Regions from separate parts of the Homo sapiens genome. Here regions 1 and 2 are each linked to region 3. The links are contacts of gene promoters, found by promoter capture Hi-C in blood cells and fetal thymus (Javierre and others, 2016). All regions are on one chromosome and are shown on one strand. Each heading gives the region's core, a stretch centred on a gene start or on the middle of the fragment in contact. The rest is flanking DNA. Distances are from core to core; before and after follow the strand shown. Region 1 has its middle 56 kb from the start of CHST2. Region 2 overlaps SLC9A9 (solute carrier family 9 member A9). Region 3 holds the start of SLC9A9-AS1 (SLC9A9 antisense RNA 1).

Region 1 (4,259 bases), core at 1,025-3,524, 280 kb after region 3:
TCTATTAACACTCTACAGTGCAGTAGGTAGTTGTGCCAGTGACTACAGAAGCATTCTTTAATGCTTTAACGCTTCTGTAGTCAACACAATTTATAATTTCCTCCTATACCAGCCTAAGAGCAACAGGAGTGCTATGTCCTGATCATCTACTGGTTTGATTTCTGTATAACAGCACTGAAGTGAAGCTAATCTTAAGGTGAATACAACCTCTGTTGCAGGGAAAGGAATCACAAGATCCAAGGAAATGAGGAGTTAAATTATTTATTAGAGAGCTGCTATGTGCTTGGGGCATGCTAGATACTGTATTTATATAATCCCATTTAATCTTCCCAGCCAAGAACCTCCTAACTCATTTCCCTGTTTCTCTTGTCCTTCTCCCATTCTGTCTCTGCACAGCAGCTGAAGTGTCTTTTGAAACTACATCAGGTCACTCACTCCCTTGCTTAAACCTGTCAAGCCCTACCTAACCTCATCTCATACCACACCATCCTTTCCTCACTGCACTTGAACTCCACTGACTGCTTTCCATTTCTCAACACGCCAACATGGTCTCCCTCTAAACATTCTAACTTCCAGCACCTTCGGCCTGGAACACTTGGTGCTCTATCTTCACACAGCCAGCTCTACCTTCTTACTCAACCTCACCACCAGTGTTTCTCCTTGACTACCCTATCTAAGAAAGGTACCCCTCCCTCACTTTCTATCCTACTACCCTGTTTTTCAGTACATTTTACCATCTGAAATTATCTTGTTCAAATTTTTGTCTGATTCCTCCCATTTGTATGTAAGTCCCAAGACATAAGGACCTTGTCTGTTCTATTCATCACTGTATTTCCCCAGTGCCTGTGCATAGTAGATGCTCAACTTGTTGAAGAATCCTGTAAAATAGATGGCATGCTCACGCTGCAAATGAGGAAATGGGCTCAAAAGGCCTTGGTTAAACATCGTGACTGAGACCACACAGCTGGGAAGTGATTGCCTTGCAATGGTTGAAGGCTGAAGGGAGTCTTTGGATCTCTGGAGTCCAGGTATTTTGTTCTATGGTTGGGCAAGTCCCGCTGGGCCACGCAAAACAAAAAGCCAGGTTTTCAAAGAGGCACTCTGCTTTTGTGAACTTTGTCTTTTCAAGCTCTGTATGAGCTCATCTAGATTCATTAAAGATGATCAAGGTCCAAAATTAATCTACGGAAATCACATTCCACAAAAAATAACCGAAGAACTCAAAGATCCTGAGGTTTGGCAACTAGATTTATTTACATATAAGATTATGAAAGTAATTATATCTAATATTTCATCTCTTTGCCCCAGTCTTTCTTTTTGCATTGGGCAGTGTTTCAGTCAAACGTAAGAATCTGTACAAATTTAACAGAGAGAAAATACCACCTTACCCAAGACCAGGCAGCTGATCACGTTTACCTTGTCTCCAACACTCTGCAAGGAAAGAACTAAACGTTGCAGAGAAAGTGGAGAATAAATGCATTGCAAGGCAATCAGAAGAGGCAAGTAGGCCAGGGCAAGTCCTCTATTTTCTTCAAAAGTTTATTACATCCTCCTCTATTTTCATCAAAACGGTCTGTTTCACCAGAGGTAAACCATGTTCCATACAGTCATAAGTCATAAGCTTTGCAAGGCCCTCAAGGGTCCTTGGATGTCCAGTGGGTGCTATGCAAGGACATATCAAGTGGGTGCTATGCAAGGACTCTTGACAAAGGGCCCAAGTGTGGAATAAAGAAGGGTATGTATGAGTACACTTGGGCACTAAAATAGCTTGAAGGCTTTTTCCCTATAATCTAAGTTATATATGGACATGTGAGATACAAGGAAAGCTACGAAGTGGTGATTGTGTAGCTAATATTTTGAATTTCACTATGGCACTTGAAGAGAATCACTCACTGGGAGGACAATATCAGTATATATGCTGATTGTTCACCATGAAGAATATTTTAAGATAAACTATTCTAGAAATACACTAAACTCACCTAGACAGTTGAGTTCTGCAACTTATGAATGGCATTATAGGCTCTGAAATATACAGTGGACAGTAATTCTTTACCTTAACACCAAACTGTTCTCTCATTCTTCATACATTATTAGTCATGGTTTTATTACATAATAGGCAAGATAAATAATACTTTTATTACAAAATACATGCAAATAAAGAATATTCTGAGTTTTTACAAGTTCCAGGTCATGTCAGTCATGAGAACAAACAAGCACAAAGATCAGTCCCTGCTTAAAGACTTTCTCTAACCTACCTAATATTTAAGGCAAATTACACATGCTTTCAGGGCAATCAATTCAGAATTAAAACAGTATTTTTAGATGTAAATGTCTCTTGAGAAATACTTGATATTTTTGCTTTGTGGAACTTACACATATATAGTATTTGGCACAGAATTAGACATGCTACGTATTTTTCTGGGGAGAACACATTCTTCAGATAAGATGTATCCAAAGTTGAGGATAAGCATCCTATGAAATATGTAAGCTATACATAATATGTAACTTTGAAATTTACAGTTTAAGTTCATGTTAGCTAAATGTTATTGTGATTAGAAAATATAAAATAGCTACATAGAATGTTTTTTGGCTTTTGATACCTTTCTACATCCTGTGAGAGAGACTGCTTACGTTTCTAGAAGGATATGACAGATCCTTTATTAAAATGTTAGCACGGCCAAAAGCCATCTGAAAAGCATTTTTCTAGAAGTTTTTAATAAACCCCTCACATCCAGTAGCTATTGCACAGTGCAATAAAACAAAATATGCTGAAACAAAAACAATTAGGTCATTTTGCATTGCTCTAAAGAAATACCCAAGGCTGGGCAAATTATAAACAAAGAGGTTTATTTTGGTTCACGGTTTTGCATGCTGTATGGGAAGCATGGTGCTGACATCTGCTTCTGGTGAGGGCCTCAGGAAGCTTAGTCATGGTGGAAGGTAAAGGGAGAACAGGCATATTGCATGGGAACAGCAGGAACAAGAGAGATGGGGGAGGTGCTACGCTCCCCCCAGATCTCATGTGAACTACCACACCAAGCCAATCATGAGGGATCTGCCTCAATGATCCAAACACCTCCCACCAGGCCCCACCTCCAACACTGGGAATATTACATTTCAACATGAGATTTGGAGGGAATAAACATCGAAACCATATCAATCATCTAATACCACCCTCATGTAATAAGAATATTTAGTGGCCTAGGTAGCCAAACTATATAGCAAGGTGCTTATTCTTTCCAAAGACAATGTTTCAGCTATTTGGAGGACGAAAGAGTATTTCTAATCAAAGTTGTGCTCTTCCAGATTTACATTTGTGCAGTTGTGAGAACTCCAAAGAACTTGATGTGTCCTGAGGACGTTACTACAAAGCGGTTAATTTCTGAATTGAATTTAAACTGTAATTTCCTTTCCAAATTCCGTATGGTTTGAACTCTACTCTAAAAGTAATTTTAGGGTACATTTCTTATTCTTGAATAATCTGAAAATACAAACTGTAACTTGCAAACATACACAAAACACAGGAGTTCAGTTGTACTCATAATACTAGCCCTCTTCTTAATTCTTACAGGATTGTTTTCTGTCCACCCATTTTGTGAAAACTGCATACTGCTGCTCTGCTCTGATAATTGTACAGGTTTTTCTTTTACTTTGAACTTTGACAAAGAATCCAGTGCTTCATCACACTTTATACTATTCTCCAGGCTTTTTCCACATATCCCCTATTTCAGCTGTTTACATTTAGATTTTCCTTTATGGGATTCCTCCTTCCAGGAACTTTGGTTAGGGGAATTCACAATAATAAATGACAACTAATAAAAAGTATATTTTAAAATCTATTTAATAGTTTTTCTCATAGGAGATCAAGAATTAAATGTCATCTAAAACACTGGGAAAGCAGATTATGAAGTGGTATTCCATATGCAATAAATATGCCAACATATCACCAACTTTATTTATAAAATCTGTTAACTGAATACAAATCAAGTATAAGGAAATCTTGTAAAGGTATCAGTGCTATGGAATTATACTGTTATTCTTTATCTTGTTTTAGTTATAAGATGTTCCCACCATTAGTTCTCAGGAATAATGAATATTTATCTAAGCACCACTGTATGACAACCCTGTGCCAGTGATATACATGTGATTTCATCCTTTCAATAACCATTCAAGGTTAATATCCCCTCCTTCTAGGTGATAAAAGGGAATAGCTGATACACAAATCCAAATATGACTTCACGGCCCAGGCCTTTCCTCTT
Region 2 (4,123 bases), core at 1,596-4,095, 270 kb before region 3:
AAGGTGCCTAATCTCCCTGAGCACCTATTTTCCTCATCTATAAAATGAGGATAATCATATATACCTCCTGCAGTTGTTTTGAAAGTCAGTGATGATAAATTTGTTTATAATACTTAATAACAAAACGCATCAAATGATACTTGCTACATTTATTTTGCTATTATTATTGACTCTGAGTTATTGTCACATTCAGGCCTCTTGAGTGGTTCTAGTTAACCAGGTTGCAGGGGGATGCTTTTCCTCTTCCATCCAATTCCAGTGATGAGTCTTAGACACAGTCTGATGTTCAAGCAGTTTGTTTCGCCAGCGCTCTTACAAGACAGAGAGGAGGAGCAAGTGGCATAAGGGCATGGGCAAGATACCGTCTGGGCCAAATGATTACTGCCTGATGGAGAGGGTCTCCATCTGTGGACCATTCTTAGAGTTTGGAAGATTTCTGTTCTTATACCTGTATTCAATCTCGGTCAGTTACCAGGTGATTCATTCATAAAGTGAGTTTGAACTATTCTTGGAAGGATAGGCTTTGTTGTAAGGCTCATGAAACTTGCATTGAGCCAATAATAATGTTTCATCTGCTTTCTTAACCATAGGCGTGGTGGTGACTGTCAGTGCCTGTGGTGTGGCCAGTGCACTTGGGATTATCATTCTAAATTCACAGGCCTCTGGGTCTGCTAGGTTTAGTAACGAGACTCTGAGGCAAGTTGGCTGACTTGTATATGTTGTTCATGGGCTGCTGCCAGCAGCACCAAGCAGGCATCACTGTGGGTAGCACACCCCTGGAGAAGCCATGCTGTCTCCCTGTCCCACCCCCAGTGTCCATGAGGGCCTATACCAAGAACCCCGTTTCTTCTTATTTGCAAGAGGACCAGTGCATTCTGAAGGACTCTGAAGAACTCTGAACATGACAGTTATCACCTGTCATAATTTCAATACATGGACTTAAGCTTTCATAACCTTTTCTTAAATTTCAAATTTCTGGGCTCATGGCTATCTTTTGAAAAGCTTAGTCAGATAATATCTCAGAAAACACCGAGTACTCCACCTGATACATAAAAGGTTACCATAAATGTGGAATCTGAATTGTTCATTCGATTCCCCATCATGGGAGTGGAAAGTTTCTGATTTCCTAACTGTGGTTTATATCTGTCTCACACTAATAGAGAGATAAAAAACCTTATATCATCTTGGATCCCTATTGAATACCATGAGAGTAAAGACATGATCCAATTATAGCACATTCAGAGGGCAATTTCTCCTCTTTTTATTAGGCAGTCAGTAAGATGTACTCTATTGTCTGTTGGAGAACTATGAATTAAAGTGCCTGGAATCTGAAGAGAGCTCTGTACAGCCTATTTTCCCCCAAGCCGGACATATCCTTGAATATGCTTTGTGGCTCAGTATGAAAGAGAGGCAGAAATGGTTGCAAGCCTGATCAAATCAAGGCACTGATCAAAGGACTAAATATACAGCTTGCCAAATGATGCATAGCAAGGGTGAGAGGGAGAAAAAGGATCAAAAATTGATACAGGCATAGCAAAAATGAGTACACAACCTGTGTAGAGAGCTAACCAGAAACAGGAACATGAAATTGAGCCTAGGAAATGCTAGAAATACCTGTCTTAACCCTCAGAGATGGTACCCTTATTGCCTGCCTTGGTGAAGTCTCCCAGAGGAAACTAAGGAAGGACTAAGTTTCATTCAGATGATGTGTTTCTGCTGTGGAGCTGAGGGACAACTAAAAGCACAGCAGAGGTAACATAAAGAATCTGTAGGAAAGAAATTATAACATTTGAATAGAAGAGAGATACACTATGTTGTTGGATAGGAAAGTTCAATATTAAAAGTGCTAATTTTCCCAAAATTAATTTTAAAATGTAATTCAATTCCCATAAGAATAATAGAGCTATTTTTTTCTAGAATGGACAACATTATTTTAATTTCATATGAAAGAATAAATGAGTTACAATAAGGTCTAAAGCAATTTAGCAGTAGAAAGAATAATGGAATAAAAAATTATAATTATTGCAATGTGGTATGAGGATAGGAATGGAGAGGTCAAATGAATAGAATAGGACATTCAGAAAAAAAAAAAGAGAGGCATGTCTGTGGACACTTTTGCACATGTACTCCGTGTTTAAAAGTGGCATTATAATTCAGTGAGAAGAGAGGAAAGAGATGAAGTTGAGCCATTTAGCTGTCCAATTATAAAAAAACAAAAGAAAGTTATAATTCTACCATCAGACCTTACATGAAAACAAATTCCAGATTATTTTTAAAATGTAAGAAATACCAGACTTACTACTAGTTAATACTACCTGGTAAGCACTTAACATACCTTTCTGGAAGATTTTGTGGTCATAAAACTGGATTGCAAAATTTGAGAAGTTTCAACATATTCTGGAGATTCTGGTTGCCAGAGCTTTAAACATATAAAAGTCACAGACTGTTTCACAACAGTCTTAATTTTCTTTTCAGTAAGCTAACATCTATAGTTGCTAAAAAATTAAACCACTTGCTATAGATATTTGAAATTCCTTTTTCACATTTTTGTTTAATTCTAAGATGCTTTTTGAAAAGAAAGAAAGGGAGAAAAACAGAGCACACCTCAGACCTCTTTGAGTTAAAGATTAATCATGCAATTTAAACCATAGCCCAGCATAAAGATGGAAAGGTAATTGATCATATTAAAAGCAGTTTGCCATAGAAAAATGTTTTGTATCTTTCCAGTACTTCCTGGAGTCAAAGAATCAAACTGAGAAGAAAATACAAGCAGTATGTTATTGGGAGGCTATTACAATCAGCACAGCTGTTTCCAAATTGTTTGTCACATATTTCAGCCCCTGCTGTGGCCTTTTTTTAATATATATCTTTCTACATTAGGGGAAAAAATCCATATCAGTCCAATTTAGTGTTCTTAAAGTGCTTCAGGTTTATAAGATGCTTCTTTAAGCAAGTTGCTATTGAGATAATTCTTTTTGTTTATGTGTAATATTCAAGTTGAAATCACAGTATTCACCTCTATCTGGCAGGCTGGAACATTCTGGTGAGAGATGTCACAAAATTTGCCCTTAGGGATGTATGAAAATGTAGCTTGGTGTGAATTCAACTGGGAATTCCCATACCTGTCATTTCAAATCGGCTCAGACTAGTTGCAGGTATTTTGGTCTGTTTTGCTATAAATAAAGGGATACTATGAAATGAAAATACACATAGTTCTGTTGGAGAAACTTGAAATCACTTCAGAGAAGCAATTACTTACCTCTGCTTTCGATCAGGCATCCATGTTGGTGGTCTGGCATCCGAATACCCAGACGCCTCTTGGAAACATGTTGGAGCACAGGGGTACCACCCTGAAGATCAATGTGAGCTCAAGTCACACCAGCTCTTATTCACTTAGGGTTATCCCACAAGTGAGAGAGAGACTGTCTGAGGACACTAGGATTGCATGGAGTTTGGTTCTTCCTCCCAGACAATATTCCGTTTAAATGGGTTGCACTCATGAAAGTTCATGTTGGTTCAGGGTTTGAGACTTTGAAAGAAAAAGGTTGAAAATGCAAAGTTTAACTGCTATGCTGCTGTAGTGACATCTATTTCTCTTCAAACTTGACACTGACAATGGCAATCACTGTCTGTGCAGGTGAATAGGGTCAACGCCTCTCTGTAGAGACCCACCCTCTATAGGGGCAAGCTAAGAGGCTATCTTGGCTAAGTCTAGTACTCACTATCCATTCTTTAAGATGTTTCTGACATTGATGACTGACCCAAGGCTTTAACTTCAAAGTTTCCTAGGCCAGGCATGGTGGCTTATGTCTGTAATCCCAACACTTTGGCTTGAGACATTTGAACCCAGGAATTTGAGACTAGCCTGGGCAACATAGTGAGACCCTATCTCTAAATATTTTTTTTCTTAATTAGCCAGGTATGGTGGTGTGTTCCTGTAGTCCTAGCTATTCAGGAGGCTGAGACAAGAAGATTACTTAGACCCAGGAGGTCGGGACTGGAGTGAGCCATGATCGGATCACTGCACTCCAACTTGAGTGACAGAGTGAGACCCTGTCTCAAAAATAAGGGGGTTCTTTCCTTTAATCTCCAGTTACTTTGTATAACATTATTATACTTGATT
Region 3 (3,956 bases), core at 336-2,835:
TCAGTACATTGTTGAGGTCTCAAGAGCACAAAGACTCCTTGTTGGGAAACTCCTGAGACCTAGAACCATGTTTCCAAGGCAGCAGTACTAGGTAAATATTCTAGGTGTATATTCTCTGTCATTTTTAATGTATGAATAGCAGACTAAAAGTGCTGCTTTTTATACCTAACCAGGAATCATCTTTGACACCATCTGAAGAATCAGTGGTAGACTCACCATCTTCAGAGTCCTTCAGCTTCCACTAGACCATTTAATTCATTTTGAGGGGACAAAATAGGGACTCCTGCAGTTTTCTCTCTGTAGTATTTTCTTGCTGAATCCAAGACCACATTAGGAAACCATGCCGTTGATTTTTTCGACTACTGCTTGTGGCAGTTCTTGCCTAGCTGTTGAAAGTTACTTTTTTTCCCCTCTTTACATCTTGGTAGAACATCTTATTCTGAAAATTGACTATCTCTCATCCTCCATTCCCACGCTTTGCCTAGAAAATGAAAAGATGTTTAAAAGAATGCCCTCCTGTTCTTGCCACTACAAAAAAATCAAAACATTTCCTGTCATACACTCACACACAATTAGTCTCCTTAACAATAAAGAGGAAAAGAAGTGGGAAAAAAATATCCATGACCTCTGTTGGTATTAAGTCTATAGGATACACTCAGCAGAGTCAAACCATCTAGCACAATCAAAACCATTATCTCCTCCTCTGGGTGTCTAAACTGCCCATATCAGTCATTTCAGTGAATAAAGAAATAAACAAACACTAGAAAATAGGATAGTTGTAGATTTGAGAAACAGTAAAAGTGTGGTGCTATGTATAGCAATGATATCACTTGTATTATTACAGTCATTTTTATATTACTAGCATTTGGGGATTATATCATCTAGCATTTGAGGTTGTTTTGACAATTTGTTCACATATAGATAAGAAAGAAGGAATGATCTTTTCAAAGAGAGATGCATGGTTAAAAGCGTGGCGCGTGTATATTTGCATGCACATGCACCTGCACCTGAGGTTGAACATGCACCAGATACACCATACCCCACCTGAGTGATTAAATAGATCACTCAATAGGAATTTTTCAGGTCATTTTCAGTTTTCTCAGTCTTTTGAAATAAGGTGATATTTTATGGTGCCCACAGTGGTTTGTGTCTACAAGCATTGCCTAATTTTAAAACCTTAAGTTAATCTTGACAAATCTGGCTATTGGAAGCTGTTTGGCCTTGAAGGTTATTTTATTTGTGAGTCCTGCTCTAGTTGCTACATAGATGGTGGCATTGGGTGGGGTGTTTAAAATCTAAGATAGTCCAATAAATAAACTGAAATACATCAGCAATAAGGTTTATAAGTGACCTCATGAGGAATCATCTAGCTTCTTAGATCAGGGTCTGCTGGTCATAAGGGTGGATCACTTGAGGTCAGCAGTTCAAGATCAGCCTGGCCAATATGGCAAAACCCTGTCTCTACTAAAAATACAAAAATTAGCTCGGTATGGTAGCACATGCCTTGTAATCCTAGCTACTTAGAAGGCTGAGGTAGGAGAATCACCTGAATCCAGGAAGCAGAGGTTGTAGTGAGCCAAGATGGTGCCACTGCACTCCAGCCTGGGTGACAGAGTTAGACACTGTCTCAAAAAAAAATAAGAAGCTCTAATGTTTGTTTCATTGAGAGATCCCTTCCTAAGGGACCCAACAAGCAGCTTCAATGATGGTCAGTAAAGTATGAACCTTATAACCATAGTTTCCACGTTTCCACCTTTGCCTCCTACTGAGGCGGCAGCAGAGCTGGGTCCTGACTGTGATGCGGTATTCCCATAACACAGCTCCACATCCAGAGGTAGTTTCACCCGGAATCAATGAAACTCAGCTTTCAGGGCTCTTCATCTGCATGGGTCCTTTGTAAGGGACCAGTGTTGATATTCAAAAGTGTGCATTCTTTTTATTAAGAATAGCCTCCAAAATTAGGTAACCTTCAGACTTCATGAAATCTGGATCTATCCCCGTCCATGTGAGTAAACACTACAGGGAAAATATGATAAATTAACGGTCTTATCATAATATTAAGTATTACAATAAATTATATGATTGTAAAAAATTTCAGTCCCTAGCACCTATATAACACTGTGTTCTGTATTTGCATATCGGAGTCATTTTGGTAAACAAAATTTTAATTTATTTGAACAGGGTTCGGGAAATCCTCAGGAAGTTTAACTTGCAATTTGGTATCTGAAGCTAATGTTATTCCTCTCCACATTTCTCCTCAAACATTTGGCACAGCTTTTCCTACCGTGGCAAGCAACTTGTCCCATTCTGAAAAGTGTGTTAAATTCACAGATACCCAATAATGATTATTGCAGGGTGTTCTCCAACACGTTTCATCCCTTGGTCTAAATTTACATTGTATGACTATGACCTGGGATGACTCTCTTGCCCTCCCTTGTAACTCAATACAGTTATGAATGGATGATTATTTTTATAAAATCCTACTCTGGAGTTCCCAAATTGACAGGCATTGGAGGCTCCCAAACCGACCCCATCTCAGGTATATATTCTCAAGACCAAAAGTTTATGAAAGCTAAGCCCCCTTAAGCCCCCACTACTCCAAAGGAACTGCAAAACAGCACATGAACAGTGAAAAAGATCCTAAAGAAATTCACCTCCCGATCACACCAAATTAATGCTATCCTGAGATACATCCAGCGAAAGGAATTCATCATATTCCACATAAGTGCCAAAAGACATTTGGACAGACTTTCAGCCTAAAGGATAGTGAGAGGGATAGTCTTAAAAATTTTAAAGATTTCTTTAGAACTTTCTTAGAATTAAGTGTCCTATTCAGCTTAATTGTTCTGCTACCAGCAAAAGTGATAAAGTTCAGGTGATCCTAAATGCAGAAAATATGTGGAAGTGAATAAAGCCTTCTGCACTAATGACTAGCAAATTTCAATAGATTTCCAATCTCTCTTTTTCACATTTCTTGTACCAACTCATTTATATTGTCATTCTAGAAAGAGCACATAAAAGGGTGTCTGGAGATAGATTTCTGGATGTTAAGAGAATCTTTAGTGAGTGGAGATAAGACCTGACCAGGAGACCTTTTATGAGTATATTCAGAAATGTAAACTGATGAATATGGTAAGGGCAAAAACTCAATATGATTGCATCTAAGATAGGATAAGGAGTTAATGCCCCTTTCCAAGAGAAATCTTGAAGACGGTACCAAAGTGAGCCCCAGGAAAGATCTGAACTGAAACCTCTCTAAGAGTCTCTTCAAAGCCTCCACTAGCTATAGAGTGGTTGCAATGGAGAATGATCTTGTTTTCCATTAAGAAATTCCAACTACTCATTAGTACCTGTTTTATTTTTCCCACTATAGCCTCCAGGCCTACCACTGTGCCTGGCACAAAGCAGGTGTTCTAATAAATGTCTAGTTAATGTTGAATCAGCAGGTAATCAAAATAGTCCTTCAGTTAAATGATAGTAAAATCCCGAATGTATTCCTGTGAGAGACTTGCCTTATTTCAGGCTGGTGTTGAGCATTGTCTTTTGACCTCTGCCTACTGTTTTATTTATTTATTTATTTGCTTTTCCTTTAACTTCTGTGGTCTGGTGAGGTTGTGCACAGAATCTGGAACCTAAGACTGTATTAGGCCAGTCAGTCATGAAATTATAGTTTGTTGGCTGACAACAAAGCACAGGGTGCTCAGGAGATGAAGCGTGGTATAATAGTACTGAGGGCTTCTAACATCAGTTTAATCAACCGTGATTCCAAGTCACTTATTATTGTGTTTACAATGTCACGATGCAAAAAGTTCTCGTGTTGTGTTCTCAGTGCTTTTGAGATTTCTCCTATGCATTAGTCTTTGACTTGGTTGCTTTTTTTATGTCAGTTAATACCTTTTGGAAGCCATAATTGTACATAGCACACCCCATCATTCGGGCAGTAGCATCCTTTTACA

The links. The method cuts DNA at HindIII sites, captures the fragments that hold promoters and counts their contacts. A CHiCAGO score of 5 or more calls a contact.
Region 1: a contact is called between a fragment that was not itself captured here and the fragment with the promoter of SLC9A9-AS1 in region 3, in 1 of 17 cell types (M2 macrophages). The highest score is 5.6, in M2 macrophages.
Region 2: a fragment that was not itself captured here is called in contact with the fragment with the promoter of SLC9A9-AS1 in region 3 in 5 of 17 cell types (naive B cells, M2 macrophages, total B cells and 2 more); the score reaches 7.3 in naive B cells.

What each region holds. Positions count from the first base shown.
Region 1 is chr3:143,061,834-143,066,092 of GRCh38, reverse strand. No RefSeq gene overlaps it. Among named protein-coding and RNA genes, the nearest start is that of CHST2, 56 kb to the left of the region's middle. The HindIII fragment of the contact is 1,302 bases long and covers 1,624-2,925 here.
Region 2 is chr3:143,611,689-143,615,811 of GRCh38, reverse strand. The region is part of intron 6 of SLC9A9 (solute carrier family 9 member A9); the gene reads left to right. Among named protein-coding and RNA genes, the nearest start is that of SLC9A9, 230 kb to the left of the region's middle. The HindIII fragment of the contact is 3,681 bases long and covers 1,005-4,123 here.
Region 3 is chr3:143,339,875-143,343,830 of GRCh38, reverse strand. It overlaps SLC9A9-AS1 (SLC9A9 antisense RNA 1), which reads right to left and starts at 1,585. Exons shown (of 4, transcript NR_048544.1): 1 at 1,547-1,585; 2 at 217-481. The region is part of intron 14 of SLC9A9 (solute carrier family 9 member A9); the gene reads left to right. The HindIII fragment of the contact is 6,948 bases long and covers 1-3,956 here.